3 separate regions of the Homo sapiens genome follow, and all the other regions are linked to region 3. The links are contacts of gene promoters, found by promoter capture Hi-C in blood cells and fetal thymus (Javierre and others, 2016). All regions are on one chromosome and are shown on one strand. Each heading gives the region's core, a stretch centred on a gene start or on the middle of the fragment in contact. The rest is flanking DNA. Distances are from core to core; before and after follow the strand shown.

Region 1 (2,700 bases), core at 62-2,561, 790 kb before region 3:
GAATTCAGGTTTAATAACAAGCTATTTTCAGTTCCAAAGGTTCTTAGAAAGCTAAACATAAAATTTTATTAGTATATATTTTCTAAACTTCACTTGATGCCCCTTTTGTTTGTATTTCTCTTAGGACTCAATATTATTTATTCTATTATGTTTAGAAACAATAAACTCTTCGTAAATTTTATGTGCCATTGTTTTTTCCATAGTGGAATTTATCACCAAATCCGTTTAATATAAATAAGTTTCATAATGGAGGTGTATCTTTTTCATTGTAGAGTACCAGGATGATTAAAAGGAAATGTTACAAAGCTTAGTAAGGAGAATTAATGCATTTGAAACCATCTATCAGATTACTTTAGAGAAGAGTGAATTGAGTAATTTTAATGACCAGGAAAAGGCTTAAGTTAATCATTGTGGCTGTCCAGCTATAAAGCTCCAATCCCAGATACGTAAACTAGGAAAATGCTTTCATGTAGTTTTGTGCTAATAATTGATAATGGCTACAATTTCTTGAGCTCCTACTATTAGTCAGATTATTTTTCTATATAATTTTTAACTCTTACAACAGCTTTTTCAGAAAATTAAGAGTTAAAGTCCCCACAAGTTTTATGAGGCCCAGTGGGAATTCAGAGGCAGATGTGTGAGGCCGCAGGAGCTGCTCCAGCACAGGCCATGCTGTCAGTTTGTCAGAACCTCTAAACTTTGCATTTCATTCTGAATCATTACAACTATTTGAAAAAGGCTTATTATTTTGGTAGAAATTATACATTAATCATTGGTTTTGGACTATATGAATAATTTTATATGAAAAAAGAAAGCATATTGATTAGAAGTTTATTACTAAACAAGAAAACAAACTTTTTTTTGAAAAATATTGAACAATTTGATAGAGTGACTGAAGCTCTAAAATAAGAGCATTTTAACCAGAGGTTATGTTTCTAACTCTTGGGCATGGCTTCTATTTAAATTGAGGAATATATTTTATGTACAAGGTATCATACAAAATACTAAAAATAATTTTTTTAATATGTGTTTTTCAATCCTGATCTTAGCATATTATTATATAAGATTTGTCAATAAATTTAGCCAGTTAGTTTGTAGTCGATAGACTCCTTTTTGAAGACCAATTCTTCAAATCCCAAAGTAGTAATTATTTACATTAAAGGAGAATATAGTCATGAATTAAACCCATCAAAATACTAGATTTTTTTGTTCTGAGTAACAGAATAAAATAAAAGTTGTAAAAAGAGAAAGTGTTTTTCATTTGTGTAAAACAATGTCTTTATACATGTGAAGTAGCTGAAATTTATATTTACTTAAAATTTGTTATATATACTTTAATTTTAAAATATCTAAGGAAGCCAGAGAAGGAAAGATGATTGATTCCTTTAAGAAATAGTAACAGAATAAAAAATTTAAAAAAAAAAAAAGAAAAGGAAGAGAAGGGGATTGGGAAATAGAAGGGTGAAAAAAGAAATACAAACAAAAACAAATACGGCAGCCTGGGCCAGGTGGTAGCTGTGGGTGGTAGCGAATGTGTGCCCAGTCCACTTCCTGGGTGCTGACTGCGGGTCCCAATGTGGGGCTCTGGTAAGGAAAGCAACCCTTCTCTGCTGTGGCTACCAAGCACCCAAGTCCTCTATTTTTAAAATAAGATTAGCTTATCGGCAGAGGTAGTATCCTCTATCAAGGTAAGAGTCAGTCATGGTGCTAGCAAAAGAGTAAACATGACCTTTCCCAAACAAGAATGGTAGGAAAGAAAGGCCTCTACAATTATAGATTCTGAGAAGACAAAATAAACTAGACTTTTAAAACTGAAGTAAACAAGAGAGATGCTATCCCCTCACCAACCTCCTGTACCTGCCGTTTCATAGGCAATATATGGAAATCAGGGATAACTGATTTGTCGGAGAACCACTTGGAGCAGTCTGGTGAGCCCCAAGGTAATCTTCAAATAGTTGAAGTTTATAGTATGCTTGAAGTGTTCAAGTCCCAAAGAAGTCCTGCAGAGAAGCCTAACTTAACTCCATATTTCCCCAATGGGCTTCTGCTTAGGTAGGGTTTTTAGACAACAGCTATTAAAGTCTCACACAATTAGTGTTCTGCTGAACATATTTCAGCAATGCTCAGTGTCTAAAATCTAACACTATTCCTTCTCTCTCTCTCTGTGTGTCTGTCTCATGTGAACACACACACATTAATATCTTATATATACACATATATATTAACTAATGAGCAAATTAGTTGATGCATAGTGCATTCTCAGTTCTATGATCTATCTCAGTGTGTTCAACCATGTCTACCCATTAGAATCACCTGGAAAGCTTTTTAAATATTTCAATGCCTGCACCCCACTCCAATTTAATTGGTTTGGGGTCAGGCCCAGACATTAGCCTTTCTTAAAAAACTCCTCAATTAATTCCAATGTGCAGATAGGCTTGAGAGTCACTGCCCAGGGCTCTGCCTTCAGCTGGAGTCAGCTTTAATTAATCTCCTACTTTAATTCTGTGATGTGTATGCCATGCTCTATTATATTTTTGTTTCAGATATGTTTCACTGAGTAATGAAAGTAAAGGGAGAGCAGTTGGTGGAAATTTACTCAAGAAATTGTTTGTCATTAATACAAATGATGAGCCATCTGGATAAGCAATAAGTTTCCGTTCCTAAAGAGTGTGTTCCAGGGGTGCATAGTTTTTATTAGTA
Region 2 (2,700 bases), core at 75-2,574, 580 kb before region 3:
TGATCCGCCTTTGCCTTTCATTGCGAGGTCTTTGTTCCTCAGCCCTGAAAGATGACAGCAAATCTAGCCCTGTGTTTCAGAGCTCCCAGCCTGACTCTGCAGCCTTGTGCCCCACACACTTTCAAAATCCAGAAAATGTTTTAAGATGAGACTGGTCACATGCTAGAGGCCATCATCACCCCTGCCAGGGTTTTACTTCTGAAGCACCTCTGTCACTGTAGGAGGTTTCATTCTGCTTTCTATAAACTTTGGCCTAGGGCGCCCATCACCCATGCAGGTGAACAGCTAAATGAGTGTCCCCTGTGGACGATGGCTGTGCATTTGAGGACCTATAAGTTTCCAATTTGTTTCTTTAGTCCCATGAAACTCCAAAATATCATGTGGTTTATCTTCCTTCCAGAAAAAACTCTCTGGATCTGGGGAAATGCTCAGAATTGGCAAATGTCCCCGGGAGGAAAAAAGCAGCTGGTAATTATCTGTTCACCTCAAAAAGCTTCACTCCATCTGGAATTCTCTCCATTTGTCAGAATTTCCTGATGTTTTAGAAAAATGACTCTTTTTTGAAATTTTTACAACAGGAACAATAACATGCTATAGCTCTCCAGAAGTGAACGTTCCTCAGTTTGTTTTCTAAATAAATGAATATGAAGTTGTGTCATTTAGGAAACATGGTGTCTTAAGAAAACTTGGGGAAAATAATCAGTTGACATGGTAGCGATATTCTTCCATCAGTTAAATGTTGTTTCCTGATCTGGTGACATTGTTTTCAGAGATCACTACTGTATGCTGAGTGTGTGCCAAGGAACATAAATATGAATGTTCCATGTCCACACTAATGAGACTGAAGGGAATGTAACCAGCACAGCACACACTGGTGGAGGATGACGGAGGAGCTGGCACACACTCCTGGACAAACATAGATGACTGTGGTCCCATTCAGAAAAAGAAGGGAAGAGGAACATGGTACAGGGGACTCTGATCCTTAGCCTGTATCAGATCCTAGACCACAATAGTTGGGTTAAGCACAGTAGACTCACAGCTAAAAGCATATCTTCTTTTGAGAATTGTCTACTCATGTCCTTAGCCCACTTTGAAAGAAATTATAGATGATGCGAACAAATGGAAACACATCCCATGGACTCTTGGGCCAGGCTGCCAGGATCTGTCATTTTCCATGTGGCTTTGGCCAGATTACCTGACTGCCCTGTTCCTGTTTCCTGATCTGCAACATAGAAGTACCCACTTTACAGGGCTCTTAAGAGCTGACGAGTTAATGCCTGGAAGGTGCTTACGAAAGCACCTAGCACACGTGTAGCCAAAGTGTTCACTAAATAACCTGATTTCATGCAAGCTCCCACCACCCTGCTTTCTTGGCTCACTCTGCTGAGAGTAGAAGCAATCTGGCTTCCACAAGCATCTGCCCAACAGAATTTCTCATTTCCAGGCCATTCTGATGCAGCCCTAAAGAATAAAAAAAAAATACCCTTTTAAGAGGCCCACTCTGCTCTGCAGCTCACTCTCTGTTATGTCTAGAAATTGCTTTAGGGACTGAGTAACCATAGTCCTCTTTTCTACCCTTAAGCTCTTCTTTCCTCTGGTTGTCTGTAAATTCAACTGGGGAGGCTCCTTTTACTAATAACCAGCTCCAGAACTCTAGTTACAGACTCTGAATATGGGTTTGACCTTCATGCTGTAAACATCATCTCCTTGATCCCAGCCTTTAAAATCCTCTTTCTGGGGGAAACAGTAGGCTCAGGTGTTGGTGTTAGAATTGGGCCTGGATGGAACACTCACTCCCTTTGCTGCTTTCAAGTGACTGTTTTCTACATAAGTGCATAACCACTTGTGTTCTGTTTTGTTTTATTTTCTCTCATTTTAATGGAGAGGGTTGTGATGAGATAGAAGAAGTGCTGGAACAAAGTAGTTAGTGCTTTGGAGGTAGGATGAGTCATCTCATTTCCTCTGAATTCTCCCCAGTATTCCTATTCGGATTTCCAGAATCTCATTTTTTTTTTAAACCAGTATACTTCCTTAGAATTGCCAGAAAAATTGATATCTGCAATGTCCAGCTACTACAGACTTCTGGCGGCTGGCAGAAGAAGGGTGACCCCAGCTACATAGCCAGCTTGTCTTGTGCCCTAGCTGAAGTCAGGGGGTAAGCTTGGTCTGCAGGGTGTCTCTCTTCAGGGGCCATAGTGACACAAGATGATGTAGCCAATACAGTTACATGTTTTGATGCTTTCCTGCAAAGGCCCATAATGTTCCCATCTTTGAGGGCTCAGCGTCTGAGAGTACACAGTTGCTAATTTAGCTCATTGCTTTGTCTCACTGCCACCAAATAGAGCAGGCAGGTAGATACACCAAAGAGGCTTCAAATATTCTCAAGCACAGCTAGCCCGCCTTGAATGAGCTCATTGGATATTTTAGTGACTGCCTTTTGGAACACCTAATGCTTGAAAACATTTTCTACATGAGTGTGGTGTGATTGTGTATTGTCTATGAACGGACCCTCATGAGTAGGGGTCCATCTTTGGGTCCATGCCTTATGGTCGGAAGTGAGGTCATGTAACCCTAATAGTCATGTTTGACTATTAACTATGTGGACAGATGGAGGAGCAGCTCCGAGGATGGAGTGACGCTTGAGGAAGCTCTGTTAATAGGAGAACATCTATTATGGATAGAAATTAAATGAAGAGAAAG
Region 3 (2,700 bases), core at 124-2,623:
TCTGCGCCACCACCGAGTCGTCCGCCTGCATCCACAGCTCGCCGGGGCCTGTGACGGCCGAGCGGCCCACCTCGATGAAGAAGAAGCTGTCCGAGTGGCCGCAGCGGCGGATGTTCATGAGCTGCAGCGTCACCGACGGCTGCTCGCAGTTGAGCTTCACGAAGCCGATGGTGCGCGCAGACAGGCACAGACGGTACACCCCCGTCAGGTTCTTGCTCTGGCCCAGACCCTTGGGCTTCAGGTTCACCTGCCACACCTCACGGTAGGCGGCCGTGGCGGGAGCCACCAGCCCGTAGCTGTCCTCGGCCCCGGCGGCGCCGGCAGAGCCGCCCAGGGCGCCGGGCAGGGAGGCGCTGCAGGACGCGGCGGGCGCGGCGGCGGGGGGCGCGTCTCCGGCGGCCGCGCGGCCCTCGCTGACCAGGTCGGTGAGCGCGCGGTACCAGCCCTCCTGCTCCTGCTCGTTCTCGGCGGCCACGGCGAAGTACTCGTCCTTGGTGTAGAGGGCGATCAGGTACTTGTGCTTGGCGTCGGCGCGCTTGTTGATGTTCAGGCAGCAGTCGAGAGCGATCACCCGTTTCGGCGCGCCTGCCTTGCTCCGCCACTTTTTCTCGCTCTCGTAGTACTCGAGCCGCGGCGGTTGCGGCGCCGACCCCCCGCCCGCCGTCGCCTCGTCGCCGCCCGCGCCGGGTCCGCGCAGCACGAAGAAGCGCTTGTGGCCATGCTTCTGCTTGCGCAGGTAGCCGCACTTGCGCACGCTGTGGTTGTTGTTGTTGTTGTTGTTGTTGAGGTTGGGGCCGTCTCCGCTCGCCGGCCCGGGCGGCCCGTGCCGCGGCGGGCTCGCCATCGCGGGCGCTTCAGGCCGCGCGGCCCGGGCCCGGCGCCCAGGGGTTGGGGCGAGGGGCGGAGGGGGCGCGGGCGGGGGCGGCTCCCTCCCACCCTTGCGCCCGGCCGCCCGCCCGATCACGCGTCCCTCGGGCCCAGGCGGTGGGGAAGGTCCGGGGAGGCCCGCGGGGGCCAGCACCGCTCGGCGGCGCCGCGCCCTCCGCGCTCTGGGGCTCCTGAGGATGCCCGGCGCGGGCGGTGGCCGCCCCCCTCCCCGGCTGCCTGCGGCCGCTGCCTCCTCGGGCTCTCGGGCGGCGCCGGGGGACGCGCTCGCTGGGCCGGGAGTCGGGGTCCCCGAGCCGCGGGGCCGAGCCTAAGGCGCGCGCGGCCGCACCGGGGCTGCTGCCGCCGCGTCGCGCTCCGGGAAGCCGGGGTGCGCCCGGGCGCTCGGGGTCCGCGCCGCCGCCGGGGCTGCTGCTGCTGCTGGTGTTGCTGCTGCTGCTGCCAACGGCGACCCGGGCTCGTCGCGGTCCCCGCCGCACAGTGAGTAACACATCGCGCACCGAGTGACTGAACTAAGAAGAGCAAAACAACATGTGACTCGGCGTTACGCAGGCACACACAGCGCGGCCGCCCCGCCCCGCTGCCTCGCATTGGCGCCGCGCCCCCCGACGGACGGCGCGCTCGGCCAATCGGCGCGGCGCTCGCGGGGGCGGGCCGCGCGCCCCCGCCCCGCCCCCCTTTCTCCCCGGGCCGCGTTTCCCGCCGTCCCCTCCCCCTCCCGCGAAGGCCCCGGCCCGGCCGGGCGGGGTGGGGCGGCCCCGGCCTCATTAATCAGCGGCTTGTTGTGGATGCCGGCGGAGGAGATGCCACCCAGGGCGGGAAAAGGGGCGCGGAAGAGGGGCGGGGCGGGCCACGGCGCGCAGGGCCCTTCCCTCCCGCCTCGGACTCAATTAATTGGGCTTGAGCTTCCGCCGGGGAGGGGGCGCCGGGCGGGGCCGCGGCTGGGCGGGGCGGGGGATCGGGATCGGCGGCGGGGGCTGCGGCCTTGCAGTGGAAGCATGGGCGGCGAGCCGGGCCGTGCTCTCGGGGCGCGGGGTCCCCATTTTGGGCGAGGGCGGCCGCTCCCGCGCTCGGGGTGGGCGCGCCCCATCCCCGTCCCCCGTTTCCCGTCCCCGTCTCCCGGCCGCATCTCCGTCCCCCCGCAGCCGCGAAACGCGGGGAGGTTCCAGGGCCCGCGGCCGCGGGTTCGCGAGCACCGCGCTCCAGATCGAGAGCGGCGCGCGCCCTTCCGTGGAGGACAGAGGGGCGCGGAGGGGGCGCCTGTGTCCCACCCGCTCGCGGGCGCTTTACGGGGCGTCCTCTGCGCCATTCACTTGTCAGCTTGTCGGGAAGTTGAAATCGCGTTTGGGAGGTAATAGGAGAAAGAGATCGGGGACGGCAGGCGGAGAAAGTGCGGTTTCCATAGCGCCGGGGAGAGGGCGGACCCGCGAGCCAGCGGTCCCTGAGCCGGGAGACCGCGCGGGCGTCTCTCCAGCCCCCGCAGGAGCGCCGCCTTCCTTCCGCAGGGGCGTCCTCTCCCCCCACCGCTGCAGGAGCACCCCCTTCCTTCCTCGGAAGCGTCCTCTCACCACACCGCTTCAAGAGCCCCCCCTTCCTTCCACAGGGGCGTCCTTTCCCCCTCCGAGGCAGGAGCGCCCCTTTTCCCCCCACAGGAGCGCCCTCCCCACCCCAGGAGCGCCCTGCGCCCAGCAGACGGGCAGGTGGGCGGGCGTCCACTACCTGTGTGCGCGGTGCGGGCGGTGACTGCCAAGTTGGAGATGCCCTTGGAGAACTGCTTCGAATTCATGTATCTACTGGGCTTTTGTGACTTTCAAA

The links. The method cuts DNA at HindIII sites, captures the fragments that hold promoters and counts their contacts. A CHiCAGO score of 5 or more calls a contact.
Region 1: a fragment that was not itself captured here is called in contact with the fragment with the promoter of IRS2 in region 3 in 1 of 17 cell types (endothelial precursors); the score reaches 6.0 in endothelial precursors.
Region 2: a contact is called between a fragment that was not itself captured here and the fragment with the promoter of IRS2 in region 3, in 1 of 17 cell types (fetal thymus). The highest score is 5.4, in fetal thymus.

What each region holds. Positions count from the first base shown.
Region 1 is chr13:108,999,768-109,002,467 of GRCh38, forward strand. All of the region lies in intron 21 of MYO16 (myosin XVI), which reads left to right. Among named protein-coding and RNA genes, the nearest start is that of MYO16-AS2, 100 kb to the right of the region's middle. The HindIII fragment of the contact is 2,015 bases long and covers 305-2,319 here.
Region 2 is chr13:109,203,581-109,206,280 of GRCh38, forward strand. All of the region lies in intron 34 of MYO16 (myosin XVI), which reads left to right. LOC124903207 (a long non-coding RNA gene) reads right to left here. Exons shown (of 2, transcript XR_007063864.1): 1 at 1-2,700. Among named protein-coding and RNA genes, the nearest start is that of MYO16-AS1, 38 kb to the left of the region's middle. The HindIII fragment of the contact is 1,667 bases long and covers 492-2,158 here.
Region 3 is chr13:109,785,210-109,787,909 of GRCh38, forward strand. IRS2 (insulin receptor substrate 2) reads right to left here and starts at 1,374. Exons shown (of 2, transcript NM_003749.3): 1 at 1-1,374. The coding sequence starts at 844. LOC124903211 (WAS/WASL-interacting protein family member 1-like) reads left to right here and starts at 1,875. Exons shown (of 2, transcript XM_047430835.1): 1 at 1,875-2,236; 2 at 2,391-2,700. The coding sequence starts at 1,884. The coding sequence ends at 2,628. RefSeq lists an enhancer at 1-510 and silencers at 1,352-1,581, 1,602-1,771. The HindIII fragment of the contact is 25,501 bases long and covers 1-2,700 here.